Linked DNA regions of Homo sapiens: all the other regions are linked to region 1. Evidence: promoter capture Hi-C in human tissues and cell types (Jung and others, 2019). All regions are on one chromosome and are shown on one strand. Each heading gives the region's core, a stretch centred on a gene start or on the middle of the fragment in contact. The rest is flanking DNA. Distances are from core to core; before and after follow the strand shown. Region 1 holds the start of ANKRD9 (ankyrin repeat domain 9). Region 2 overlaps LOC124903390 (a long non-coding RNA gene). Region 3 overlaps RCOR1 (REST corepressor 1). Region 4 has its middle 3.7 kb from the start of TRI-AAT5-4. Region 5 overlaps RCOR1 (REST corepressor 1). Region 6 overlaps RCOR1 (REST corepressor 1). Region 7 overlaps CINP (cyclin dependent kinase 2 interacting protein).

The links. Contacts are between HindIII fragments. The study calls those that stand out against the background at their distance.
Region 2: a fragment that was not itself captured here is called in contact with the fragment with the promoter of ANKRD9 in region 1 in 1 of the 25 tissues and cell types used here (mesendoderm cells).
Region 3: a fragment that was not itself captured here is called in contact with the fragment with the promoter of ANKRD9 in region 1 in 4 of the 25 tissues and cell types used here (IMR-90 fibroblasts, dorsolateral prefrontal cortex, hippocampus and 1 more).
Region 4: a contact is called between a fragment that was not itself captured here and the fragment with the promoter of ANKRD9 in region 1, in 1 of the 25 tissues and cell types used here (heart right ventricle).
Region 5: a fragment that was not itself captured here is called in contact with the fragment with the promoter of ANKRD9 in region 1 in 1 of the 25 tissues and cell types used here (IMR-90 fibroblasts).
Region 6: a fragment that was not itself captured here is called in contact with the fragment with the promoter of ANKRD9 in region 1 in 1 of the 25 tissues and cell types used here (heart right ventricle).
Region 7: a fragment that was not itself captured here is called in contact with the fragment with the promoter of ANKRD9 in region 1 in 6 of the 25 tissues and cell types used here (H1 embryonic stem cells, dorsolateral prefrontal cortex, hippocampus and 3 more).

What each region holds. Positions count from the first base shown.
Region 1 is chr14:102,507,933-102,511,832 of GRCh38, reverse strand. It overlaps ANKRD9 (ankyrin repeat domain 9), which reads left to right and starts at 2,057. Exons shown (of 4, transcript NM_152326.4): 1 at 2,057-2,304; 2 at 2,987-3,192; 3 at 3,284-3,358; 4 at 3,891-3,900. LOC105370679 (a long non-coding RNA gene) reads right to left here and starts at 1,790. Exons shown (of 4, transcript XR_007064352.1): 1 at 282-1,790. RefSeq lists enhancers at 50-693, 694-1,339, 1,340-1,983 and silencers at 1,464-1,513, 1,674-2,113, 3,108-3,269. The HindIII fragment of the contact is 3,197 bases long and covers 70-3,266 here.
Region 2 is chr14:102,753,670-102,757,569 of GRCh38, reverse strand. LOC124903390 (a long non-coding RNA gene) reads right to left here. Exons shown (of 2, transcript XR_007064356.1): 2 at 1-3,900. Among named protein-coding and RNA genes, the nearest start is that of TRAF3, 22 kb to the left of the region's middle. RefSeq lists enhancers at 2,667-2,836, 2,907-3,106. The HindIII fragment of the contact is 8,282 bases long and covers 1-3,900 here.
Region 3 is chr14:102,711,659-102,715,558 of GRCh38, reverse strand. RCOR1 (REST corepressor 1) reads right to left here. Exons shown (of 12, transcript NM_015156.4): 8 at 942-1,136. Among named protein-coding and RNA genes, the nearest start is that of TRAF3, 64 kb to the left of the region's middle. The HindIII fragment of the contact is 8,777 bases long and covers 1-3,900 here.
Region 4 is chr14:102,311,463-102,315,362 of GRCh38, reverse strand. No RefSeq gene overlaps it. Among named protein-coding and RNA genes, the nearest start is that of TRI-AAT5-4, 3.7 kb to the left of the region's middle. RefSeq lists enhancers at 707-786, 680-1,180. The HindIII fragment of the contact is 3,723 bases long and covers 162-3,884 here.
Region 5 is chr14:102,685,771-102,689,670 of GRCh38, reverse strand. All of the region lies in intron 3 of RCOR1 (REST corepressor 1), which reads right to left. Among named protein-coding and RNA genes, the nearest start is that of TRAF3, 90 kb to the left of the region's middle. The HindIII fragment of the contact is 4,511 bases long and covers 1-3,859 here.
Region 6 is chr14:102,669,355-102,673,254 of GRCh38, reverse strand. The region is part of intron 2 of RCOR1 (REST corepressor 1); the gene reads right to left. Among named protein-coding and RNA genes, the nearest start is that of RCOR1, 79 kb to the right of the region's middle. The HindIII fragment of the contact is 3,276 bases long and covers 47-3,322 here.
Region 7 is chr14:102,351,129-102,355,028 of GRCh38, reverse strand. The region is part of intron 3 of CINP (cyclin dependent kinase 2 interacting protein); the gene reads left to right. Among named protein-coding and RNA genes, the nearest start is that of CINP, 9.8 kb to the left of the region's middle. The HindIII fragment of the contact is 9,147 bases long and covers 1-3,900 here.

The sequences.
Region 1 (3,900 bases), core at 808-3,307:
GAGGAGGGCAGGTCAGGGCACGGGGGCAGGGAAGACATCAAGGGGTGGAGAGAGACCCGCCCTGAGGCCCAGTGCACAGCCTGGCATCCACTGGTGCCCTTTCACCCTCATTCCACCAGTAGCCATGGAGACGGCTGTATCTCAACTCCAGCCTTCGAAGAGGGCAAGAGAGCAGGGGAGCCTTGAGCCACAGACAGCCCACATGGGCACCATCTCCCCAAGATGTCCCCCAGGGTTTGGGCTCCCAAAGGCCGATTGTTGACTCCAGGACCTTCACTCACTTTGCTCTCCCCACCATCGTACTCAGAGGCATCCAGAACCGGCAGATGGGAGAAGCCCTAGGGAGATAGGCCTAGATACAGGAGGAGACATGTGGAGCTGAGGCAAAGGCGGGTGCGGATGCCAGGCCCAGTGCCCTCTATACCCCTACTCCTGCTGACAACCTGGCTGCTGTAAGCTTGGCAGTTGCCATGGACTCCCTGGGAGAGATGGCGTGGCCTGGAACGTCCCCCGCCCTGAGGTGGGGCAGGGCTGGTGGGGTCTGGTCATCCCCCTGGTGGGTCCATGCATGGCAGCCTGGGCAGGATACATGTGAGTGCCTACCTGGGCTGGGGTGGCCTGACCCTCTCTGGGCCTCACAGCTTTGTCTGCCTCATGGTACTGTCCACCTGGCCTCTCAGGACTGCTCTGTGGCGTGTGTGCTTAAGGGATTGAGCTCGTTGGGCTGGGGACAGAGGCCTGCCTAGGTCTGTTGAGAGGGCCCAGGTAAGACTTCCACCCAGACTGACTGGCTGGGGCACACAGAGAAGCCAGGACAGGGCTGATTGTGTGTGCAGGGGCGTGCCCTCTGGACGAGGCCCCTCCCACCGGGGCGAGGCAGAGGCCTTGCTTGGTTGGAGCGGAGTGGGGGAGTGGGAGGGTCTCCCTGGTGAGATAGTACTGGAAGGGCAGGGACAGCATTCTAGGGAAGGAACCAGAAAGAGCCCCTGCATGGAATGTGGGGATTTCACCATGAGACCCCGGCTGCCTGGCCTCTGAGAACGTGTGTGGGGGGATTCCAGGTGGAAGGTCGTGTCTGGGAGGATGGGTGGGGGGTTGAGCAGTCATTGCCCCTCTCCAGATCTGCGTCCACATCTGTAAAATGGGCCTAGAATTCCCAGCCGCTGGGGGCGAGTGAGGCCATAAATTAGTTGAGATGGACCCAGGCTCCTAAGCCCCCTAGGTCATGACCCCAAACCTTGGAACCCCCGACGGAGACGGTGGGGGTGGCCGAGGCCCAATCGAATCTATCCCGCCCAGATGTGGGAAGAACCGCAGGGCAAACCCCCGGCTTCCCTCCTGGCCGCTCCTCTCTTTGAGGCCACCTCTCTGAGCCCTGATTTGCTGGCGGGTGAACTGGGGATCATCGTGTCCACTGTGGCTGGTGGTCGTGAAACGAAGTGGAAACATGAGTGTTGAGGCCGAGATGGGCGCAGTGCGCGCTCCTAAACAGCTGTCCCCATCCGTCCGCCCCTCCCTCCCTTGCGCGGGTCAGCTGGAGCGGGGGCGCGCCAGGCACGACCCTGGCCGGGCAGAAGGCGGTGGAGCCCTTAGGGGTCGCGGCTCCTACCCCCGGCCCTCCCATGTGCAGATGGGGTAGCAGCCTGGAGGTTTTTCCCAAGGTCACGTAAGGTCAAAGAAAAGGGGAGCTGGACGCGACGAGGAAAGTCACGCACGGCGGAGGGCGGGCCACCTACGCGCGCGCCCGAGTTCGCAGAGCAGCGGCGCCCTCCCGGGCTAGGGCAGCTCGGAGCTCGGAGCCTTTCTTCGCCCGCAGCTCGGGTTCCGGGAGCCCCGCCCCCGCCCATCAACGCCCCGCCCCTTTCGCCACGGCCCCGCCCCTCCTCTCCGTTCTCCCCGCCGGCGCTCCCTCAAGTTTCTCCGAAGTTTTCCGCGGGTCCAGCGGTGCGCCCCGCCCGCCGGCCAGTGACGTAACAATGGTGCAGCGCGGCGGCCAATGGGTGGTGGCGGGGGCCGGCGGCGCGGGCCAATGGCGGCGGCGGACGGTCCCGCTGTCCTGCCTGGCCGGGGCCGCACTGCGCCGCCCGCCGCCCGCCGCCCGCCGCCCGCCGCCGGCGACGGCACCGCCGCCCTGCGATCCGGCCGCGGCGGCTCAGAGCGCGGCTGCGGCGGGCGCGGGCGGCGGTGGCTCCCTCCCGTGCGTCCGTCGTGGGACCTTTGCCCGCTCGCCCGCGGGGGACAGCGCGCGCTCCGGTCCGCGGCAGGGGCGGGGACGCCCGGCCTGTGGCCCCCGCGCCCCCCATGGTGAGTCCCCGTCCCCCGCGCCGCGCCCGCGGCCGCCGCCCCCTCCTCCTCCGGCACACGCGCACGCAGGTGCAGCCCTCGCTGCGCCGGCCACCTGCGCGCGGACGCCCCGCTCGGCCCCGCGACCCTCCGCCGCCCGACGTCTGGCCGTGCAGGCCGGGAGGGGACGGGTAGGAGGTGGCGGGTGGCCCCGGGCGCGGCGCTGCCTTCGATGGCCCAACCCCCTTATTCACGAGCCGCGGCCGTGACTCTGCCCGGTGACGTGGGGAGGCCGAACTTTACGTAACCCGCCCGGCGCCCCACGCGTGCCGGCACAGGGCATATCTGGGGCCCGGAGGCCCAGGCTTGGGGAAGGGGCTCCAGTCACGGTGTTGCCCACGGGCCACAGCCTACCCGCACCGCGCCGCTCTCTTTAACTCAGTTACTGCCAGTGATAGTGACCCAGTCAGTGTGTGTGGACGCGGCCTGCCTTCTGTCCCAGGCCCCTTGTGACCAAGGGCTTACCCTTGAAAGAAGGCAGTAGGGAGGTTGGGACGGAGCCAGAGGTCAGACGCCTAGGCTCAGGTCGGGGCTGGGGACTCAGAGGGCAGGGTCAGGGCCTAAGCTCGATTGCCTGTGGGTTGGGGGTCCCCACCAATTCTGGAATGAGCCCAAACTGAGACGCAGGGGACCTGAGTTCTAGGCCTGGCTCTGCCGTGGCTTGCTGACCTTGGAGAATTGGAGAAGCTTGTGCCCTGCTGGAAAGTGGGATGGCAGTACCCGCTTCATCTAGTAGTCGGGGAGATCAAGAGAGGTATGGGACCTGAAGAGGATGGCAGACTGTGCAGTGCGGTGCACACCGGTCTCCAGGTTGTTTTCACCCTCCTATCTCCTCCCAGGAGCTAACGTGTAAGCAAACATGTTTGGATAGAGGGCTGGTGCCACGCCCCAGGCTCACCCCGCCCGCACAGCCGTCGTCCACCCCTCCCCTTTCTTACAGATAAAGCTGAGGCTCGGCCAGGGACTGTGATATACCCACATCCCCGGAACTAGGTGATCGCGGTGCAGGAACCAGGTAGGTCTGAGTCTGGATCATGCCTCTGAACAGCCCAGGAAGAGGCTCCAGGGGCCTCCAAGTGGTCTGGGGTCGGAGATCAGGGTCAGGGTTGCGCTTGGGCTGGAGAGTGGATTTGCCTCAGCTTGAGATGTGGGCCCAAGCTTTCTCATCCCCTCCCTGGCCTTTTCTTTATTTGGGGTCGTATGAACCTGGCTTAGGTGGGAACAGAAGCTCTTCCAGTGGGTCCCTGGGTTGGAGAGGGGAGGGGAGATTTGAGGGCATGGGCAGCAAGGGCATTTCCAGCAGAGGTGCCAGAGAGCAAGTCAGTTTCAAGGAGGGAGAACAGGTACAGCTAGATCAAGGATGGAGGCGGTGGTTCTGGGCGTCGGAGAGATGGAGCTGTAGGGTGACTGGAAGGGCCTGGCCGAGGCTGGAGGTAGGTACAGGCCTGGTGGGCCAGGACCGGAGGGGCTGTGTGAGGGGCAGAGGGGAGTCCCCGGGCCTCCCCAGTTTCCCCGCGCCTCACCGTGGCCTCTTCCTTTCCCCGCAGGTGTGCCTTC
Region 2 (3,900 bases), core at 377-2,876, 250 kb before region 1:
GCTCTTTTATGAAAACCTTTGTCAGAACAAGCGAGGGGACATGGGTGACAGCCTCACAGGCCACCCAACAGCCACCCCTCCTTCCTTGCTGACAAAGCCCAATTTTGTCCTGTGGTCTAGGCATTGCCCTGTGTGCCTCAGGCATAGGCTCTGATTGGCTAAGCCAATGATTCTCCTAGACAATGATTGGCTTAGCCTGGGGCATGTGACCCAATCCTAGCCAATGAGATGTGAGGGGTGGCTATTGAGGAATGCTGGGAAAGGCTTCTTGGCTGATAAGAAGACAGAGGCAAGGCCGGGTGCTGTGGTTCACGCCCGTAATCCCAGCACTTTGGGAGGCCGAGGCGGGCGGATCACGAGGTCAGGAGATCGAGACCATCCTGGCTAACACGGTGAAACCCCGTCTCTACTAAAAATACAAAAAATTATCTGGACGTGGTGGTGTGTGCCTGTAGTCCCAGCTACTCGGGAGGCTGAGGCAGGAGAATGGCGTGAACCCAGGAGGCAGAGCTTGCAGTGAGCCGAGATCGCGCCACTGCACTCCAGCCTGGTAGACAGAGCAAGACTCCATCTAAAAAAAAAAAAAAGAAAGAAAAGACAGAGGCAAAGATGCCTTCCCTGCTGCTGCTGATGGTTGGGTCAAAAGAAGACACACAGAATCCTATCTACTGAGCTTGGCAGAGATAAAGGGTGAGAAAATGGCCTTCAAGATGCCACCAAGAGCCAGCCAGATGTGGTGGCTCACGCCTGTAATCCCAGCACTTTGGGAGGCTGGGGCGGGTGGATCACTTGAGTTCAGGAGTTCGAGACCAGCCTGGCCAACATGGCAGAACTCCGTCTCTACTAAAAATACAAAAATTAGCCGGGCATGGTGTCTCACCCTTGTAATCCCACCTACTCAGGAGGCTGAGATGGGAGAATTGCTTGAACCCGGGAGGTGGAGGTTGCAGTGAGCTCAGATTGCACCACTGCATTCCAGCCTGGGCAACAGAGAAAGACTCTGCCGGAAGAAAGAAAGGAAGGAAGAAGAAAGAAGAAATAAGGAAGGAGGGAGGGAGGGAGGAAAGGAAGAAAGGAAGGAAGGAGGGAGGGAGGGAGGGAGGGAGGCAGGGAGGCAGATGCCACCAAGGGGCCAAACTGGTGAGCCTAGAGCCAAGAGTCCTTCCTTGGAAAAGGCCACTACTTTCCTTATCACGCAAGCCATTTGTGTCAGGTTTCATACTTGCAGCTGAAATGGTCTTAGCCGACACAGTGGGCGAGATGCAGGGAACCCGGGCCCCAGTGCCTAGCGGGGTTCTGCTGAGGTGGGGTGTTTAAGCAGCATAGGGATACAGGTAGGCATACTTTCCAAGTAGGAGTCTAACTAAGCCTTTTGGTTGTTTACTCCTGGGAACCCAGTCTATTTTAGTGCCTTGGACTCTTCTCAAAGGTGCCCCAAGAACCCTCGAGAGTCCTGAGTTAGTGTCACATCCTTCTCTCCGGAGGGTCCCTCGGGGAGGAATTTCCAGAGGGAGGACATACAGAGGCATTTGCTCCAGCCATGGGGAGCCCAGGGTCCGGTCTTGCAGTTTGGGAGTCCCCTTCGGGAGGCTGTGGTCTCGTAGCCTCTGGCCTGTCCTGGGAGTCAGGAGGCCAGGGGCTGGCTCCACCTCTGCCTCAGTTTCCCTGTAATCAATGAAGAGGAGCAAAGGATTGCTGTGTCCCCCCATCTCAGATGTGCTCTGATTCCGTGATGATGGTGGACAGAAGGAACACAGAACCCCTGCTCCCTCTTTTGGAGAAGAACTCATTCATTTATTCCATAACGTCCATCAAGTTGCTAAGGCTCTGAAAGGAGGCAATGCTTCCGCCGCCTCTTAAGATCACCCAGGGCCCTCCATGCTCGGGAGGAGAGGAGGGGTCTTCAGGCAGCAGACCCAAGATGGGCTGTGGCAGAGAGATACCAGGGTGCCATGTGCTCAGGACACAGAGGGCCAGTAGGGAGGTCAGGGGCAGGTCTGAATCCTATCTGGAGGGGTCCAGGCAAAGGCTGCTGAGATGTGTGATGGGATCCTTGGATCCTCTTCAGGAAGGAAACTCCTGGTAGTGTGGACCAAGGCAGGCGCAGGCAGAGTGGGTGGCCACTGTGGCCACCAGTCAGACCGGAGGACAGTGATGTCAAGGGTCTGAGTAGAGGCCAGGACTCCAACTGGCAAGTGGGTCATAGGGGTTGGTCTGAGGTGGGCTCAGGATCTGTCATTGACAGGATTTGATGATCAGCTGGCTGTTGGGGGTTGCTGAGGCTGCAAGCGGTCTGGCTGGCCCAGACACCCAGGGCAGGGGGCCTAAGGAGAGTGGGTCTGGGAGAAAGGCCTGTGAGGAGCTGGGTCGTGTGCAGCTTGGGGCTTCTGTAGCACATCCTGGGAAGACCCCAGAGAGATGCAGGGCTGCCGGGGGAGCTCAAGGGTGGGGGCCTTTCGGGTGAGGGCAGGGAACCTGAACAGGGATTAAAAATCCACCGTGAGCCCCTCACGGGGCATTCCTTTCCAGCAGGATGCAGTGTCCTGGCCAGGGCCTGGTGGGTCGTCAGGGCCCTGAGCTTCCCTCAGTTTCCATGAGCCTGAGCGCCCTGGAGGAGGGAAGAGTGAATCAGGGGAATGGAAATCAAGCCCCGTGGCATGCACAGCCAGCGACCATGCATCATTTAATTTGGGGTTGCAAAAATAACTCAGCCTCTCCCCTGAGGTGCTGGAATTCCCCAGTCTTCGAGTGGGGTTAACTTTAGTAAGAGTGAAATTCAGCCAGGTTGGCGGAGGACAGTTTCCAAGTCTCCTCAGGCCGGCTCTCGCAGTCTGGTGACTGTGTCCAGCCTGCCTCCGTTCTCCTCATTGTCAATGGCCATTGTTGGAATTGCTCCTTCCCGTGACTTCACCTGGGAAGTGGCCTCACCCTTGAACTCAGGACCCCAGACAAGGAAATGAAGCCTCTAACACAGCACAGCCACCACCTTCTGCTCACTCACGCTCCAAGTTCACAGTCCTCCAGGCCCGGCTGCTGCTCTGCACCTCCAGCAGAGATGTATAAAGATTTCATGGCCTAGGAGTGTAATGAGCCCCAGATTATTAAGATCCCATTTCTCTTTGAAAATATCTCATGAAGTATTCTCTTAAATAATTAAAACTAAATTCCACCTATCCAAATAAATGAAAAAGGGTGTTTGGCTCCGTTGTGTCCTTGAGTGACTCTTCGGGGCCACCAGATCCTTTCCATGCTCCCCGCCACCAGATGGATTTCCAAGTGCTGGGCTTTCCAAATGCATTTTCTTCCTCTCTTAGGCCAGTGTTGTTCACAGTGACACGGACCAGTTTACGACCTTCCTGGTGTGTCACCATCCTGCTGATACGCAGGTCAAAAAAAAATCACACAGACATCAGACGCTGACACCAATAGGCCCATCCCAAAATAAGGATTTATATATATTCCAAGAATGCAACTTCATCTATACTTAGGATGGGGAACTTGGCCCCGCTGGACGACAGTGAGCTCATCACCTCCAAAAGCCGGAGTTTGGAGCAGGACTCAGCCAGCATGTCTGGGGAGTATCCTGCCAAGGTCCTCCAAGTGGGTCCCTTTGTGGCCATTGCTGTCTTGCGGTGAGAGTGGAGATGTCTTGTGGGGTGAGGTTGTTGTGATGGACAACAGAGAGAAGAGAAGAAAGTCTGGGCTGGCGGAATCAATTCAGTGTTCTCTTTCCTGCACATTCTGAGGCATAGATAGATATTATGTCTTCCATTCACCCTGGTGGGGTTGGTTCCAAACATCTCTTAACAAGAGTCTTATTCGAGTGCTGGGTACAGTGGCTCACACCCATAATCCCAGCACTTCTGGAGGCTGAAGCGAGTGAACACTTGAGTCCAGGAG
Region 3 (3,900 bases), core at 404-2,903, 200 kb before region 1:
ACACAAAAAATTAGCCAGGTGTGATGACAAGCGCCTGTACTCCCAACTACTTGGGAGGCTGAGATGGGAGGATCATTTGAGCCCCGGAAGCAAAGGTTACAGTGAGCCAAGATCGCACCGCTGCACTCCAGCCTGGGCAACAGGACAAGACACTGTCTCAAAAACAAAATAAAATTAAAAAAAATCAGGGCCGGGCGCGGTGGCTCACGCCTGTAATTCCAGCACTTTGGGAGGCCGAGGCGGGTGGATCATGAGATCAGGAGATCGAGACCATCCTGGCTAACATGGTAAAACCCCGTCTCTACTAAACATACAAAAAACAATTAGCTGGGCGTGGTGGTGGGTGCCTGTAGTCCCAGCTACTCGGGAGGCTGAGGCAGGAAAATGGCATGAACTGGGGAGGCAGAGCTTGCAGTGAGCCGGGATCGCGCCACTGCACTCCAGCCTGGGCGACAGAGCGAGACACCGTCTCAAAAAAAAAAAAAATCAGAATAGTGGCCACCTACAAGGAGGAGTCAGGTAATAAAAGAGGGGTGGAGTTGCTGAGGGAATGCAACATTCCATGGAATAGTGACCAGGAGGGAAAATGCATGGGCCTGGGGGCAACATTCCATTTTTTGATCCAGATGCAGGTTACTAGGGTATGTTCATATTGTGAGAAATCATGGAGACACAGACACATATATAATATAAATATGATATTCATATGCTTTGCTATATACTTCAGAAATACTTTCAGATCACACTATATCCATACACTTCAATTTATATGTTCATTAAAAAGAAAAACAATGGGCTGGTACTTAAGATCTGTCCAATTCCTTCGAAACAAAATGCTCCTTTGAGATTTGCGGAAAGAGAACATTCACATATATGAATAACAGAAACACCTCTAAAGTGCTAATTAATTCTTTTACATCCAAGACCAGGCTTATGAGTACCTGTCGTTTGACTGAAACCAATTCCATGTCTAGTTGTCTCAGCACCGTGGTAGCAGCAGTGGCATTGGCAGAAACAGCCTCCACATCTTCTTGAGAAAGAAACATTCCTTTTGGAGGTTTCCTTTTTGCTCTATTTTTAGCTTGTGTGCTATGTTTTTCTTTTTTGACCTGAGGAACTGTCTCAGTAGGGGGAACCTGCATGATATACACAGGTGATGAATGAAACTTAAAAAAAGTCAAATGATCAGTAATAAACATATTTATTTCCTTAACATGGCACCAAAACAATCTAAGACAAATACCATGCCCTATCAGAACCAAATGAGATCTATAAATTCTAACAGGCAGTTCACAGACAGAATTTGGGCTACTGAGTTTTGACTAAACACAATGAAACTGTGTTCCACTCCTTCTTGTACAAATACTTCCTTACTCTATCGTTTCAAGCCAATGAAAATAAGAATTCTCAGCTTCCTCTAGTAATATAGAAAGAAAAAAATCTGTATTCTCTGCTAATGAGTTTTGTGGCCACACACACATCTGTATTTAGCTACATGAAATTACAGCTTTTTATACACATTTTTGGATAACACAATTTTTACGGCAACTTATATAACTTACTCTAAAATAATATACCTTATCATTTTAAAATGCATGACGGCTATTAATTTCTGTAAAACCAAAACTTTCAGAAATGAAACACAGTAAAATCTTGTCAAGTTAAAGAATATAACTTACTGGTAACCATTTTAAGAACAAGAAGTTTTTATAATTGCTCATAATTCCATCTTGTTAGTGCATTAGCATTCACTGATAAAGCTGAAAATATGACTTTCTGCTTCATATTTTAAAAGACTGAGCTAAAGACACTGCAAAACTATAATGGTAGTGATAATTTCTTCAACAAGTGGGTAATACAAAAATATTAGTAGGCAATAAACTGCTGTGTATGGGACTACGATGTTTAATAAAGATCACCAACTGACTACGTCTGTTCTAGTATCATTTTAATACTTAAAAAAACTACGGGCCAGGTGGCTGGGCATGGTGGCTCATGCCTGTAATCCCAGCACTTTGGGAGGCTGAGGCGGGCGGATCACGAAGTCAGGAGATTGAGACCACCCTGGCTAACACAGTGAAACCCCATCTCTACTAAAACTACAAAAAATTAGCCAGGTGCGGTGGCGGGCGCCTGTAGCCCCAGCTACTTGGGAGGCTGAAGCAGGAGAATGGCGGGAGGCTGAGGCAGGAGAATGGCATGAACCTGGGAGGCGCAGCTTGCAGTGAGCCGAGATTGCACCACTGCACTCCAGCCTGGGCGACACAGTGAGGCTCCGTCTCAAAAAAAAAAAAAAGAAACTACGGGCCAGGTGTGGTGGCTCACGGCTGTAATCTCAGCACTTTAGGAGGCCGAGGTGGGTGGATCACTTGAGGTCAGGAGTTCAAAACCAGCCTGGCCAAGATGGTGAAACTCCGTCTCTAGTAAAAATACAAAAATTAGCCAGGCATGGTTGCGGGCCCCTGTAATCCCAGCTACTTGGGAGGCTGAAGCAGAGAACTGCTTGAACCTGGGAGGCAGAGGCTGCAGTGAGCTGAGATCGGACCACTGCACTCCAGCCTGGGCAACAGAGCAAGACTCCATCTCCAAAAAAAAAAAAAAAAAAAAAAAACAATGATTTAGCCATTTTCTTTCTGAATCAGAAATTATATAAATAAGAATTATAAAAATGTATGAAATCAAGTGTTTTCTCTCATTTAAAATGTGCCACTGAAAAACCTAGTAAATAGCAATACATCAACACAAAGCTTAATAAAAACTACAACTACAATTTGATTTCCCAAACAATCTAATTTAGCTAACCCTCAGGATCTTATTTGGGCATTCATATAAATTATGCAGAAAAAAACGACCAATTTCCAATTTGGTGATATACAACCAAAAAAAAAAAAAAAAGCCTTAACAATGTATCTAGAACACGTTGACTCAACAATACAACTTCCAGGAATCGGTTCTAATGAAAAAAATCTATGAGCACAGATAGTGAGTTATGTGAGAATCAATCCAGCATTGTTTATAAAAGCAAAAAACAGGAGGAATAAACAACTGGGAAATCCACATAGGATAAGGTAACTCAATTATGAAACATTCATGTGACAGAATAATATATAGCTACGTATACAAATATATTTGACATAAAAAAAAATTCAAGGTCCAGCCTGGCCAACATGATGAAACCCCATCTCTACTAAAAATACAAAAAAAAAAACCTAGCAGGGCGTGGTGGCATGTGCCTATAATCCCAGCTACTCGGTAGGCTGAGGCAGGAGAATCACTTGAATCTGGGAGGCAGAGGTTGCAGTGAGCCAAGGTCATACTACTGCACTCCAGCCTGGGCAACAGAGTGAGAGACTGTCTCAAAAACAAAATAAAAAAAAATAAAATCAAGGGCTGGAGGTGGCTCATGCCTGTTATCCCAGCACTTTGCAAGGCCATAGTGGAAGGACTGCTTGAGCCCAGGAGTTGGCGGCTGCAGTGAGTCATGGTGCCACTGCATTCCAACCTGGGTGACACAGGAGACCCTGTCTCAAAAAAGAAAAAAGAGAAAAAAAAAATCAAGGTAGAGTAAATTTAAAAGGTTCTAAAAATTACAAAGCTTCCATTATATTATTTTTAAAAAGTGACTAGATTCAGAATTATGAATATACAGGCATATACATTTTACAGAAAGAGTTCTCAGGAAAAAGTCACCAAAAGGTTGACAGTGATTATGGATAATATTATAAATCACTTTAATTTTCTTCTTTCAGTTAGCTGTATTTCCTACCTTGTCTATAAGAAACATATATTACTGATGTCATTTTAAAGTTTAGATAAATTTAGACCCTTCTGTTTTTATAGGCTTAAAATAATAACTATTCTTATAATTTGGAGCAGAGAGAGAGAACTCTCTGAGAAATT
Region 4 (3,900 bases), core at 774-3,273, 200 kb after region 1:
TGTGCTGGGAGGCTGGGCAAGCGTCCTGAAGTCTGGAGCACTTTACTGTGTCCAAAGGACAAGGATAGATGAGCAGGCCAAAGGGGTAAAGCCCTCTCACAGAGCACTGGTGGGGGTGCAGGCATCCTGTCCATTTTGCTTACAGCTGAATGAATGCCCAGAACCTAGCACACTCTCTGGCATAGCAATAGGTAAGAGTCACATGGGTTTAAAACAGTCAGATCAAGTCATTTCTCTGCTCACACTCTCTCCTTTTGTTGCAGCCCTAACAGGCCTGCCAAATTTAGCAAATATAGATCAAGATGCCGGGTTAAAATTGAATTGCAAAAGGACAATGAAACTTTTTTTAGTGTAAGTATGTCCCACGCCATATTTGGGACATACTTATACTAAAAGAATACATGTGCTGTATCTGACAACCCTACGCCCAGGGTAACATCCCGTTGAAAGACACCACCGGACCTGCGCCTTTCCCCTCTGCCCTCCTGCACCCCTGCCCGGCTCCCTCCGCGGCAGCCCCTCCGCCTCCTCCCTGGCCCTTGCTCCTGTGCTGGGGCTTTTGCGCTTCTGTTCCTCTTCCTGGACCACTTTTCCTGCAGACAATGTCAAAGCTCCTCCTCCTCGTCGTGGTCGCTGCTTAAATGTCACTTACTCAGCGAGGTTTACCCGATGCCCCCATTTGCAATCGCAACCCGCACCCAGGATCCCTGCGGTTCCCGGCCCGACCCCCCTCCATCGCTTATTCCCGCTGCTAATCGTCGGCCTCCCACCGCTAGAGCGAACTCCAGGAGCAGTGGGCTCTATTTTACCAGCACCTAAACAGTGCTTGGCACACAGCGGGTGGTCAGTCCAGGTCTCCTGAAGGAAGCCGAGTTGATCGACCCTTGTGGGTGCAACCGTGGCATTCCCGGGACTTCAAGCCACGCGTCCCGAGTGGGCAGAGTGGACGGGGCGCGCCGGGGCCGGGGCGCCGTGACTGACGTCAGCCGCTAGAGGGCACCTGGGACCTGCGCCATCAGCTCCGAACCCAGGCTTAGGGCGACCCACGTGCAGCTGCAGGGCGGGCGCGGGCGAGCAGTTTTCTTTCCTCCTCTGGACCTCTTCCTCCACTTCTCACCCCGTCTTAGAGCTCTTAGACAAACAAACGCTAATTTTCATTCTCTGAGTGACGAAAACACGAATCTACATACTTTCAGAATTAAGTGGTAGAGAATACCATTCGGGCTTGTTTTCTTGCTTTTGTTTTTGTTTTTGAGACGGAGTCTCGCTCTTGTCGCCCAGACTGGAGCGCAGTGGCGCGATTTCGGCTCACTGCAACCTCCGCCTTGTATTTGTTTTTTGTTTTTTTAATGTGGGGCGGGGGGCCCATGTGCATTTTAAATAATCCATTTTCTTTAAACTCAACTTACGAAATGTTTCATTCTGTTTATAAGTTGGAACCTTTGGTCTGACAGTAACGACCCGCTGTGTTAGTTTCCCAGGTCGGCCACAGCAGAGTATTATAAGGTAGGTGGCCACACAACAGAATATATGGCCTCACAGTTCTAGTAGGCAGACGTCCAAAGTCAGGGTGTCGGGAAGGTCGCTTCCTTCGGAGGCTCCCACGGAGACCGCCCCAGGCTGTCTCCTGGCTTCTGGTGGATTTCGGGCCAACTTTGGCCTTCCTTCGCTTGTAGAAGCTTCACTCTGATCTCTGCCTGCATCTTCACATACTGTTCTCCCTGTGTGTCCCTATGTCCAAATCGCCCCTTTTGTGTAGACGCCAGTCATAATGGACTAAAGTCACTCTGAAGACCTTTTTTTTTTTTTTTTTTTTTTTTTTTAAGACGGAGTTTCCCTCTTGTTGCCCAGGCTGGAGCGCAATGGCGCGATCTTGGCTCGGCTCACTGCAACCTCCGCCTCCCGGGTTCAAGTGATTCTCCTGCCTCAGCCTCCTGAGTAGCTGGGATTACAGGCATTCACCACCACGCCCGGCTAATTTTGTCTTTTTAGTAGAGATGGGGTTTCACCATGTTGGCCAGCCTGGTCTTGAAGTCGTGACCTCAAGTGATCCACCTGCCTTGGCCTGGAAGCACGTACATTATTGCGAAGTTTTGACAAAGTCTCAAAAGTCTTTTTTATTTTGTTTTTGAGATGGAGTTTCGCTCTTGCCACCCAGGCAGGAGTGCAATGGCGTGATCTTGGCTCACTGCAACCTCTGCCTCCTAGGTTCAAGCAATTCTCCTGCCTCAGCCTCCCAAGTAACTGGGATTACAAGCGCCCACCACCAAGCCCAGCTAATTTTTGTATTTTTAGTAGAGACGGGGTTTCACCACGTTGGCAAGACTGATCTTGAACTCCTGACCTCAGGTGATTTGCTCGCCTCAGCCTCCCAAAGTGCCGGGATTTTGGGCGGAGCCACCGCGCCAGGCCCAAAGTCTTTGTTAGATGTAGGAAAGAGCAGTAGAAGGCCAGGCGCAGTGGCTTACACCTATCATCTCAGCACGTTGAGAGGCCTTGGCGAGCAGATCGCTTTAACCTAGGAGTTTGAGACCAGCCTGGACAACTTGGAGAAACTCCATCTCTCCCAAAAATAAATAAACTAATAATAATAATAATAGGCTGGGCGTGGTGACTCACGCCTGTAATCTCAGCACTTTAGGAGGCAGAGGCGGGCAGATCACCTTTGGTCAGGAGTTCAAGACCAGCCTGGCCAATGTGGTGAAACCCTGTCTCTACAAAAATACAAAAATTAGCTGGGCGTGATGGCGGGTGCCTGTAATCCCAGCTACTTGGGAGGCTGAGGCGGGAGAATCGCTTGAACCCGGGAGGTGGAGGTTGTAGTGAGCCGAGATGGGACCACTACACTCCATCCTGGGCAACAGAGCAAGACTCCATCTCAAAAAAAAAATAGCAATAATAATAATAAGCAGTAGAAGACAGGGAACTGGAAGCCACGAACTAGGATCCAAGCCCAGGGGAGCCACCAGCAAGTGAGGAACCTTGGCAAACAAAGCCCTTTTCCTCTCTGGGTCTCCAAGAACAGGCCACATGGCTTCTATAAACTCAAGTAAGCAAGGATTCTCTCTCACCAGCCCGTTTAATTTTATCAAGAGTTAAAGGTTGTCCTGGATCCTCAATAGTCATTTAAAATTGGGCTTGCCCCTGCCAGAAAGGAATGACAGAGCAGGTGACAAGTGGCAGGTGGCATTGCTTCTTGATTATCCAACAAGTATGTATGTATGTATGTATGTATGTATGTATGTATGTATGTATGTATTGAGACAGAGTTTCCCTCCTGTTGCCCGGGCTGGAGTGCAATGGCACAATCTCAGTTCACTGCAACCTCCACCTCCCGGGTTCAAGAGATTCTCCTGCCTCAGCCTCCCGAATAGCTGGAATTACAGGCATGTGCCACCACGCCCGGCTAATTTTGTATTTTTAGTAGAAATGGGGTTTCTCCGTGTTGGTCAGGCTGGTGTCAAACTCCCGACCTCAGGTGATCCTCCAGCCTTGGCCTCCCAAAGTGCTGGGTTTGCAGGCGTGAGCCCCTGTACCTGGCCCCAACAAGTATTTATTGAGCACCTGCTCTGCCAGGCCCTGTGTTAGACTTTGAGTAAAAATCAATGAGCATTTGTAGAGTATTCATCATGGACACGTGGACATCTCATTTAATCTTCTACTACCTTTTACCTTTTTTTTTTTTTTTAGTGACCAAGTTTCACTCTTGTTGCCCAGGCTCGAATGCCATAGCACGATCTTGGCTCACTGCAATCTCTGCCTCCGGGATTCAAGCGATTCACTTGCCTCAGCCTCTCAAGTAGCTGGGAATACAAATGTGTGCCACCATGCCCAGCTAGTTTTTTTGTGTATTTTTAGTGGAGATGGGGTTTCACCTTGTTGGCCAGGCTGGTCTCGAAC
Region 5 (3,900 bases), core at 355-2,854, 180 kb before region 1:
AGTTTTTCCTCATTTTTATAAAATAAAAAACCCAAAATGCAAACACTTAAATAACTGCACAAACACTTACTATATATAACTTATAAAATGCATAATGCATAAATGAGCAAGACCATCTGTTTCTATGGATATCCAATAGCCAAAAGTCACCTTGCTAAATTCTACACCCAAGGCAACAGCAGCCCATCTGAGAAATTTGCTCCTTCTGGGAACTATCAACATCATTCAGCATGAGCAATTTAGTTGATTATATATTTTTAAAAAGCAGACTATAAACAACAGACAAGGCTATACCCGAGCTTCCCCTCTAGTTCCACTCCCCTTCTTTTCAAGCCCTACCTTAAAAAAAATAATAATAATCAAGCAACAAAAAAAAAATCCTCAGATTAATCTATCCATTTCATTAAGACCCTTGGACCACAGTTTTGCATTATATTTAACCACACGTGCCTGGGTAAACTTTGTTTTTCCTAAGTCAGTAAAAGGAACCAGACTGGGCCTACAATCTGGCCTAAACTCTACATATATTTTAAACTCTAATACGCCCACTTTGTTAACGTTCAGCTGCTTCTCTAAACAAACGAAGTCCAAACTTGAGGTAGGTCTACACGTAAGCACAGTGACAAGAGGGGACTGTCAAAAGTACACTGCGCAGTGCAGTGGTGTCTGCATGAAGGCAAGAGGTGGTATCCTAAAGCTGGTGGGTAGGGCTGAGCAAGGTGGGCATTTAGGGTGCAGATCAACTGGAATGAGGATGGAGTCCCCAAAGGCGGGCAGCCTGGAATGGTATAAACAGGATGTGCAGAGGTAGGGTGTGGAATCCATGCAAAGGGTGGCTGCACAATATCACAGTGGGGACTGAGGAGAGATGATACCGTATCACAGCAACGGAGTGCCTCATAGGGGTTCAACAGAAACGTGTGGAGTAAATGATGGAACAGTGCACCTATACTTAACGGCATTTAATAGTCTTTACAGGCATGTTAAAGGCTGCCTGAACCAGTCACTAAGCCCACAATTCTATGGTCTCCATCTCTTTGGGGCAAGTTAAGATACTCCTGACTTGACTTCCTGAATTTCCATCATGCCGCCTTTTAACAGCACTGACCCGGTTAGGCAATCAACTTCTCTGACTTGGAATTGCATCAACACCTTACTACCACCAATAAACCTCTTCTCTACTCTTCTCTAAACCACAGGACTGTCAAGAGCTTTTCAGTGTAAATCATATCAGTTCTAGCTAAAACTCCGTCAAGAGATCCTCCAAACCTTTAAGAAGCTGGCCTGCCTTTCTAGTTTCATTTCTCTCTGCCCCAGGACAACACTTGTCACAGTCAGGCAAATCTCCAAAATTAAGTGCTGGATTTCCTCTCCACATCTTCACACCTTTAAAAATGAAAATGCTGGCCGGGCGCAGTGGCTCACGCCTATAATTCCAACACTTTGGGAGACCAAGGCAGGAGGATCACCTGAGGTCAGGAGTTCAAGACCAGCCTGGCCAACATGGTAAAACCCTGTCTCTACTAAAAACACACAATTAGCCGGGTGTGGTGGCACACGCATGTAATCCCAGCTACTCGCAGGGCTGAAGCAGGAGAACTGCTTGAACCCAGGAGGCAGAGGTTGCAGTGAGCCAAGATCACGCCACTGTACTCCAGCATGGGCAACAGAGCGAGACCTCTATCTCAAAAAAAAAAAAAAAAAAAGGAAATGCTATCATTTCTTCTGTCTAGTGTGCACTTATGCCCCTGGTCCAGCCAGCAAACTCCTACTCATTCTTCCACATTTCAATCAAATGTCAACCATCTTCAACTCTTTGTTTCTACCTAGGAAAGCTAGCACCTTCTGCTGAGTCCCAACGGGAACATCAGAATACTGACTCAGTGGTACATGGGAGATGCTTGATGTAAAAATCATATGAGTCAACTGTACTCTTCTCCAATAAGTGAACATTTTTCAGTTTCTCAGTCTGCCACCCTCCAGATTACACATGATGGCAGATTGTACTTCATTCACTCCTTTGTTGCTGAAATCTCAAGCCATGGTTTCATCAAGTAATTTTCCATGATCACTTAATATTTAAACTCATTGTTCTAATCTATGTTATTGGGAATTATTTACGCTTCCTCAACATGAAATGTCTCTCTACAGGCCACATTTTCTAGGCATATCCCATAAGTTATATCTCTCATTAAATGGGTTTTACTTAGACACAGCCCAAAAAAACTAGTATAGTATTAATGTTTTAAGCGTTGAATTACAGTTTATTAAATGAAGCAGCCTACAAAGGCAGACAGGTGTGGTAAATATTGTCTGGAGACAAGAGATCTAGCTAAAACTTGGCTACTGTAATAACTGGCTATGGGACCTTAAACACTTGACTTTACTTCTGTAGACCCCAGTGTTTCTACCTCTAAAAAGGAAGAGTTGCCTAGGAAAACTACACATAAATTATTTGCTCACATGTTCATTTTTTCTGTCTCTCCATTACAGTATGAGATTCCTGAACCTTTCACTCCTGGTACATTCCCAGACAAAAAGCTGTTCAATATAAAACGTAAATGAAAACTCAGTAGATAAACACGAATTCCGTATAATCTGAATTGAGATACTTTTGGACAGAACTTGTTACCACAAATCTAAGATTCACCTAAAAGAATAAATATAGAGCCAGGTACACTGAAAAGAATGAAGTCCAGGCACAAAGTATGTATGAGTTTAATGTAAGTGAAGGAAAAAATATAATCCAATAATTTCAGTTGAAACAACGATGTAAAAAAGGAGAAGACGACAGAAGACATCAGTCTGTTTGTAATGTGGGGGTGGGAGAGGGGTTCCTAGCATGACAATACACCAGATAAACTGTGGCATAGCTAGACAACGGTATATTATTCAGCACTAAAAAGAAATGAACTATCCAGCCATGAAAAGAGACAGTGGAACCTTAAATGCATATTGCTAAGTGAAAGAAGCCAATTTGAAAAGGCTACATACTATATGATTCCAGCTGGAAGGCATTCTACAGAAACAGTAAAACGATCAACAGTTGCCAGGGTTTAGGAGGCAGAGAGGGAGATGAACAGGTGGAGCACAGAGGTTTCTTAAACCAGTGAAACGATGATAACTACATTGGTGGACAGGTCATTATACATTTGTCGGAATCCACAGAACATACAACACAAGAGTGAAGCTTAATGTAAACTATGAATTTCGGGTGATAAGAATGTGTCACTGTAGGCTGCTTGATTGTAACAAACGTATCCCTTTGGTGGACTCCAGCGCAGGATGTTCACACTGGGGGAGGGTGTGGGTGTGTGGGGGCAGAAGATAAATGGGCACTCTGTACCTTCTGCTCAATTTAGCTGTGAAGCTAAAATGTCTCTAAAATATAAAATCTATTTTAAACAAGAAAATAAGAAATGTATTAAGGGGCAAAAATCTTCACTATTGCTTTTTTTAAAATGACAGCTTGAGCCCAGGAGTTCAAGGCTGCAGTGAGCTATGACTGTGCCACTGAGCTCCAGCATGGACAACAGAGCCAAGATCCTCTCTTAAAATGTATGTATTTTATTTTACTGATACATATCAGATGTACATATTTCCAGGGTACATGTGATAATTTGATACATTCATATAATCAAATCAGGGTAACTGGGATATCCATAATCCTAAATATTTACATTTTCTCTATATTAGGAACATTCAAAATTATTCTCTTCTAGCCCCCGCCTCCCCGTTTTTTTTTAATAGAGGGGAGATCTATGTTGCCCAGGCTGGTCTTGAACTCCTGAGCTCAAGCATCCTCATCTCTGCCTCCAAGTGCTGGGACTACAGGCACATGCCACGCACCCAGCTAACTTTTGGACTTTTTGAGAGACATGGGGTTTCACCATGTTGCCC
Region 6 (3,900 bases), core at 435-2,934, 160 kb before region 1:
AGTTTGAATAGAAAAAGCAAGTTAAAGGAAATGTATAATATCATAACTTAAATGTTGAAAACATAAAATTGGTACTATTAGTTATGGGGTACATTTAAAGAATAAGATGTATACAATAAAGATATTCTTAAAATCAGGTTAACAGGCATTTAAAGAGAGGAAGATCTTGCTTTGTAACACTGTAATATTTCACTGTTCTTTGCAAATCCCAGTGTTAAGCAGACAAATACTATTTTGTGTACATTGTGAGAAACCCTTCACTGTATGATTTGATGTTACCTGATACAATGTCTGTGTTCAAATTTAAAATCATCTAGTCCAACACTAAGGAAAATACTCTTCTAGTATATTTTCAGTTCTACTCTGAAACTCTGAGTTATTTCTCACTCTATAATGCTATATTTTACTTGTCAACTGTTTGGGAGCAGAACAGCAATTTACATTTACATTCCCACCAGCAGGGTATGAGAGTTCCAATTTCTACACATCCTCACCAACACTTGTTATTATCTGACTTTTTGATTCTAGCCAGCAGGTGTGAAGTAGTCTCTCACTGTGGTTTTGATTTGCATTTCCCTGAATAAAGAGGTTGAGCATATTGGATAAGTTTATTGGCCATCTGAGTATCTTCCCTGGAGAAATGTCTATTCAGCTCTTTTGCCTGTTTTTAGTCAGATTATTTGGCTAAAATGTTGGGAATATAAAATGGTGCCATTCCTCAAAAGATTATCATATAACCCAGAGGCCGGGCGTGGTGGCTCACACCTGTAATCCCAGCACTTTGGGAAGCCGAGGCGGGCGGATCATGAGGTCAGGAGATGGAGACCATCCTGGCTAACATGGTGAAACCCCGTCTCTACTAAAAATACAAAAAAAAATTAGCTGGGTGTGGTGGCGGGCGCCTGTAGTCCCAGCTACTCGGGAGGCTAAGGCAGGAAAATGGCGTAACAGGAGGTGGAGCTTGCAGTGAGCCGAGATCGCACCACTGCACTCCAGACTGGGCAACAGAGCGAGACTCCATCTCAAAAAAGAAAAAAAATTATCATATAACCCAGAAAATCCACTCCTAGGTATACAGCCCAAAGAAATAAAAACATATATCCACATAATAATTTGTATATAAATTTTCATAGCAGCATTACTCAACAGCTAAAAGGTAGAAACAACCCAAATGCCCATCAACCGATTGAATAAAAAAATGCAGTATGTCTATATGACAGAACTTTATACTGCCATGAAAATAAAACACTAACACATGCTCAGTATGAAACTTGAAACACTATGCTAAGTGAAAGCAGCCAGTCACATGCACAAAAATCCACAGCCTATTGTATGATTTTATTTACATGAACCGTCCAGACAGAAAGATGATTAGTGATTGCCAGAGGCTGTAGGGCATTTGAAATAACAGGGTGCCACTGCTAACAGGTACAGCATTTCTTCATGGGATGATAAAATGTTTTAAATTTGATTTGTGGTGATAGTTACACAACTCTGAATATACCGAAAACCACTGAATTTTGCATATTTTAAATAAGTGAACTGCGTGTTTTGTTAATTTTATTGTAGTAAAGCTGTTATTTAAAAAGCAAGGCTACTCAGGAGGCTGAGGTGGGAGGATCAGCTGAGGCCAGAAGTTCAAGGCCAGCCTGGGCAACACAGTGAGACCCTATCTCTGAAAGTTTTTAAAAGTTAGCCAGATATGGTGGTAAGCACCTGTAGTCCCAGCTACTTCAGAGGGTGAGGCTAAAGGATTGCTTGAGCCCAAGAGTTCAAGGCTGTAGTGAGCTATGATCACCCTGCTGCACTCCAGCCTGGGCGACAGAGGGAGAGACCCTGTCTCTTTAAAACAAACAAACAAACAAAACACAGAAACTAACTGGAAGGAGAAGACAGGTTACTCCACAGCCATTAGAACACCTGCTTGGGTTCCCACATTCTCATAACCCCCTCCCCTATACCCTAAAAAATCACATTAAGTCTGTGGAGTCGAGGGGAAGAGGGAGTTGTGTTTCTACCATTCAGGGTCCAACCATATCCTCAATGACCTGAGTCAGAACAGAAAGATGAACACAAGAAAGAGAATGGCCAAATGGATAAACACAGAAGGGGAAGCGAAAACAATGAGAACTGAAACAAATGGTGAATATGCTTTTCTTGCTATCAATAATTATAAGATAGGGCTGGGTGCGGTGGCTCACACCTGCAATCCCAGCACTTTGGGAGGCCAAGATGGGTGGATCACCTGAGGTCAGGAGTTCAAGACCAGCCTGGCCAACATGGTGAAACCCCATCTCTACTAAAAATACAAAAATTAGCCAGGCATGGTGGCAGGTGCCTGTAATCCCAGCTACTTGGGAGGCTGAGGCACTAGAATTGCTTGAACCCGGGAGGCAGAGGTTGCAGTGAACTGAGACAACACCGCTGCACTCCAGCCTGGGCGACAAGAGCAAGACTCCATCTCAAAATCAATCAATAAATAAGTAAAATAAATAAATATATATATATATATAATAATCTTGTCATTTTAAGACACGCTCACAATTACAGGTTTTAACAACATGCCTTGTTTTCTACAATCCTAAACTCTACTTGAAATGTTTTAATTTTACCAGAAGCTTAAGGAAGAGGTATGAAAACAGGAGTAGCACAATAAGCTATGAATTAAATGCTACCTTCTTGCTTAAATTCAGAACAAGAAAACTGAAGCTGAAAAGTATAAACAGAGAACTGTATATATATTGTGTATATTTATTGTGTATATATAGGGTCATTACATTCACATTCATAGTACCGTTACCTTCATGTTATCAAACCATCTTTAAGTTAGCACTCATAAATAGGACAGCTGTTTGGTTTGCTTTAAAATTTAAATTCTATCCCATTATAGATGTCATTGTCATACTCTAATACCTATATAAAAAGGACACATGAAACTCCAAATTACTCATCAGTAGGACTCAAAAAGATAATAAATAAAGCTTTTTAAAAAGGTAAATTCTGGCCGGGTGAAGTGGCTCATGCCTGTAACCCCAGCACTTTGGGAGAGGCCAAGGCAGGCAGATCACTTGCTGTCAAGAGTTTGAGACCAGCCTGTCCAACATGGTGAAACCCCGTCTCTACTAAAAATATAAAAATTAGTCGGGCATGGTGGCACACACCTGTAATCCCAGCTACTCAGGAGGCTGAGGCCGGAGAATTGCTTGAACCCAGGAGGCAGAGGTTGCAGTGAGCTGAGGTCACACCACTGCACTCCAGCCTGGGGTACAAAGCAAGGCTCTGTCTCTAAATTCTTATAATTCTTATTCTTAAATGTATGGACTGGCCACCCATACTTTCAATATATCCTGAGATGCTACGCATGAGTAAATTTAACTTAATTATGTTAGGGACCAAAAAACGTTTTATGACTCCAAAATTTTTGGCTTCTGACGTTGGGTAATCAAAAAGATAGAAATCAAAGGGAATGGCAAGAGTATATATGATTACTATTGCTGTAACAGTTATAAATGCTTACTATGTGCTAGGCACTGTGTACTTTGACGTGCCTTAGTTCATTTCAATCTTACGACTATCCATTTTATAGATGAGAAAATTAAAGCACAGAGAGATGAAGTAAGCTGCCCAACATCACACCTATGAGCAGTGAAGCTGAGTCGAAGCTTAAGGAAGAGGTATGAAAACAGCAGAAGACAGAGTCGGTGGTGTTAACCATTATGCTACAATGCCTAGATTTTAAAGACACCATACATTATGATCAAAAACCAAAGAATGTAAAGAACATTTTTCCTCCCCATGATATCCACATTAAGTATTTTAGCATTTAAGTTAAATGGCTTAAGAATTCTCAACTGACAACAGTTCACTCTCTATAAAATGAGGAAGTCAGAAGCAACTTTG
Region 7 (3,900 bases), core at 855-3,354, 160 kb after region 1:
AGCATGATCTTGGCTCACTGCAAACTCCGCCTCCCAGGTACAAGTGATTCTGCTGCCTTAGCCTCCCAGGTAGCTGGGATTACAGGCTCGTGCCACCACATGAGCTAATTTTTGTATTTTTAGTAGAGACAGCATTTCACCATGTTGACCAGGCTGGTCTCGAACTCCTGACCTCAAGTGATCAGCCTGCCTTGGCCTCCCAAACTGCTGGGATTACAGGCGTGAGTCACCGCACCTGGCCTTTTTTGTTTTTGTTTTTGTTTTTTTTGAGACAGGGCCTCACTCTGCCACTGAGGCTGGATGGAGTGCAGTGGCGAGATCTTGGCTCACTGCAACCTCCGCCTCCTGGGTTCAAGCAATTCTTGTGCCTCAACCTTCCACATAGCTGGGATCGCAGGTGTGCGCCACCATGCCCAGCTAATTGTTGTATTTTTAGTAGAGATGGGGTTTCACCATGTTGGCCAGGCTGGTCTCGAAGTCCTGGCCTCAAGTGATCCACCCACCTCAGCCTCCCAAAGTGTTGGGATTACAGGCGTGAGCCACCATGTTCGTCCAGGAAATCTTTATCTTTGGACACCGAAATTAGAATTTTGTATAATTTTTATGAGTCACAATCACTATTGTCCTTTTGGTTATTTTCAACCATTTAAAAATGTAAAAACCATCTTAGCTTATGGGCCATACAGAAATAGGCTATGGGCCAGAATTGACCTGTGTTCCAGGGATAGTTTGCCCATCCCTGATACAGCACGTAAGAGACTAAAGTGTTTGTTTAATGAACTAATAACTAAATTTCAATACCTACCATACTGGCCACCAGATGTGAAGATAACACCACCTTATTTCTTTGCTAGGCACAGGAAATCAGGTTTTACACATATTTGAACTTGGATAACTGAAGCTTACCCATAAACATTTAAGATCTTTATATTTTCACCTTTTTGTTTGTTTGGAGACAAGGTCTCGCTGTGGAATGCAGTAGTATGATCACAGCTCACTGCAGCCTTTACTTCCTGGGCTTAAGTGATCTTCTTGCCTCAGCCTCCCGAGTAGCTGGGACTACAAGCATGAACCATCATGCCCGGCTAATTTTTAAAATTCGTTTGTACAGACGGGGTTCTCATGTTGGCCAGGCTGGTCTCGAACTCCTGACATGAAGTGATCTTCCCACCTTGGCCTCCCAAAGTGCTGGGATCACAGGTGTGAGCCCTGGCGCCCTGCCTTAGCTTTTCCGTCATGTCTTGTTTTGGCTTCAGGATCCTGTATGACATCGAGTCCCCTTGTTTCCTCAGGCTCCTTTTGGCCGTGACAGTTTCTCAGACTTCCCTGTTTTTGATGACTTTGACAATGTTGAGGGATACTGGTCAGGTATTTTGTAGAACATCATGAGATTTATCTGATGTTTTTCTCCTAATTAGACTGAGGTTACGGGTTTTGTTCAGAGGAGGACCACAGAAGTAAAGTGCCATTTCTATCATGTCATATCAAGGGCACGTACTGGATATACTGTCATCAGGACTTTTCTTTGGGTCCCACCTATTGCCCGGGCTGGTCTCAAACTCCTGGGCTCAAGCAGTGCTCCCACCTCAGCCTCCCAAAGTGCTGGGATTCCAGGCGTGAGCCACTGTGCACAGCCAGGACTTTCCACTGCTGAAGTTGACCTTGATCACCTGGCTGGGCAGTGTTTCCAGGTTCCTCTGCTGTGACGTTGCTCTTTCTCCTCCTCCCACGCTGTGCTCTTTGGCAGGAAGTCACTATGCATAGCCCACACCTGGGGGTAGGGACGTATTCACCACCTGCTTGAGGGTGCAGTATCTACATAAATTATTTGGAATTATTCTGCGTGGGAGATTTGTTCCCTCCCTCCCATTTGTTAATTTTTTTTTTTTTTGAGATGGAGTTTCACTCTTGTTGCCCAGGCTGGAGTGCAGTGGGGTGATCTCTGCCCACTGCAACCTCTGCCTCCTGGGTTCAAGTGATTCTCCTGTCTCAGCTTCCCAAGTAGCTGGGATTACAGGTGCCTGCCACCACACCCAGCTAATTGTTGTATTTTTATTTGTTTTTTTTTAATTTTTGTTTTGGCCAGGCGCAGTGGCTCATGCCTGTAATCCCAGCACTCTAGGAGGCCGAGGCAGGTGGATCACCTGAGGTCAAGAGTTTGAGACCAGCATGGCCAACATAGTGAAACCCCATCTCTACTAAAAATACAAAAAATTAGCTGGGGGTGGTGGCAGGTGCCTGCAATCCCAGCTACTTGGGAGGCTGAGGCGGGAGAATCACTTTCGGAGGTTGCAGTTAGCCGAGATCAAGCCACTGCACTCCAGTCTGGGCCACAGAGTGAGACTCCGTGTCAAAAAAAAGAAAAAAAGAAAAAGAAAAGTGGTTTGGGAATAAGTTCTCATTCTATGTTCAAAACCAAAAGTTGATTTTATAGGGTATTATTATTTTTCCTATTTTCCTCTATCCGTTATAGAGAATGGTTTCCAGACCTGGTCTGTGTCTTTCATAACTTTGACCTTCTGGGGGTTTCATGCACCGTTCTTCCTAAGCTGGGCTAACATTTCACTGTGGTCTGTGTTTGCTGTGGGAAGAAGCCACCGATGTTGAAATGTAAGGGCCTGCTGTTTATGCACTGTTCATTCAGGGCTGCACGTGCCTATGTGACTTGAATTCTTTATTGATGGCTGAGCTGCAGGATTGAGCATGACTTCTTGCCTGGGGTCAAGGCTCCAGAATTTTCCTTAGTCTCCTGTTATCAGCTTTTCTTAGAATCAGGTGGCACCAGGGAGCTGCTGCAGGACTCACAGGAAAGAGCAGAGGATTGGGTGTTAAAACTTGGTGTCGGCTGGGCGCGGTGGCTCACGCCTGGAATCCCAACACTTTGGGAGGCTGAGGTGGGCGGATCACAAGGTCAGGAGATCGAGACCATCCTGGCTAACACAGTGAAACCCCAGCTCTGCTAAAAGTACCAAAAAAATTAGCCAGGCACAGTGGCGGGCGCCTGTAGTCCCAGCTACTTGGGAGGCTGAGGCAGGAGAATGGCATGAACCCGGGAGGCGGAGGTTGCAGTGAGCGGAGATCGCGCCACTGCACTCCAGCCTGGGTGACAAAGCGAGACTCTGTCTCAAAAAAAACAAAAACAAAAACAAAAACAAAAAAACTTGGTGTCAGAAGGCATGGTATCGAGTTCTGGCCTCATCCTTCCTCAGCTCAACCTTAAGCAATTTCCCAGCTGTGAAACGGAAATGACAAGTCCTGCCTCTTGGGGTTGGGCCAAATAAAATATCAAACCTTAAAAGATTTGGGAAACTACTTAAGTAAAGTCCTTTAAAAATTAACGTTAGCTGAATTTAGTGCTTGCCACTTCCAATGTAATTGGAGGGTGGTTGGAAGGACCAAGTAAAGGAATTAAGATATTTGACAATTTATATATCTTTTCTTATTTCCCCTTTTTCATATTTATGTATGTAAAGTCAACTATACTTAGGAGTTCAAAATTTGGTCTTTATAGACCTATGCTACTTAAATCTGAAATCCTAGTTACTTCACCCATTAATTTTCTTTATCCAACCCTTATATATCTCCAAGTAGGTGCTTCACAAATACTAACTCACTTAATCCTCTTCACCAAGCTGTGAAAGTAAGCCCGCCATTGCCCCTATTCTGTGCTGCCTGGTGTGTGCAGTGGGGTTGGTTTAGTGTCTCCCACAAGTAGCCATACACATCATGCAGTTACAGGGCTTAGGACAGAGCCTGGTCCACACTGAGGGACCGTCAATGGCAGCTTGCCACGTTTCCTTCCTTTCTGCGTGAAGTGTGTAGGGCTCCCTTTCTGTGTTGCCATTTTATAAACAAGGAAGTCAAGGAGGTTTCCGTAAATAAAGGCAGTTAATAAGAGAG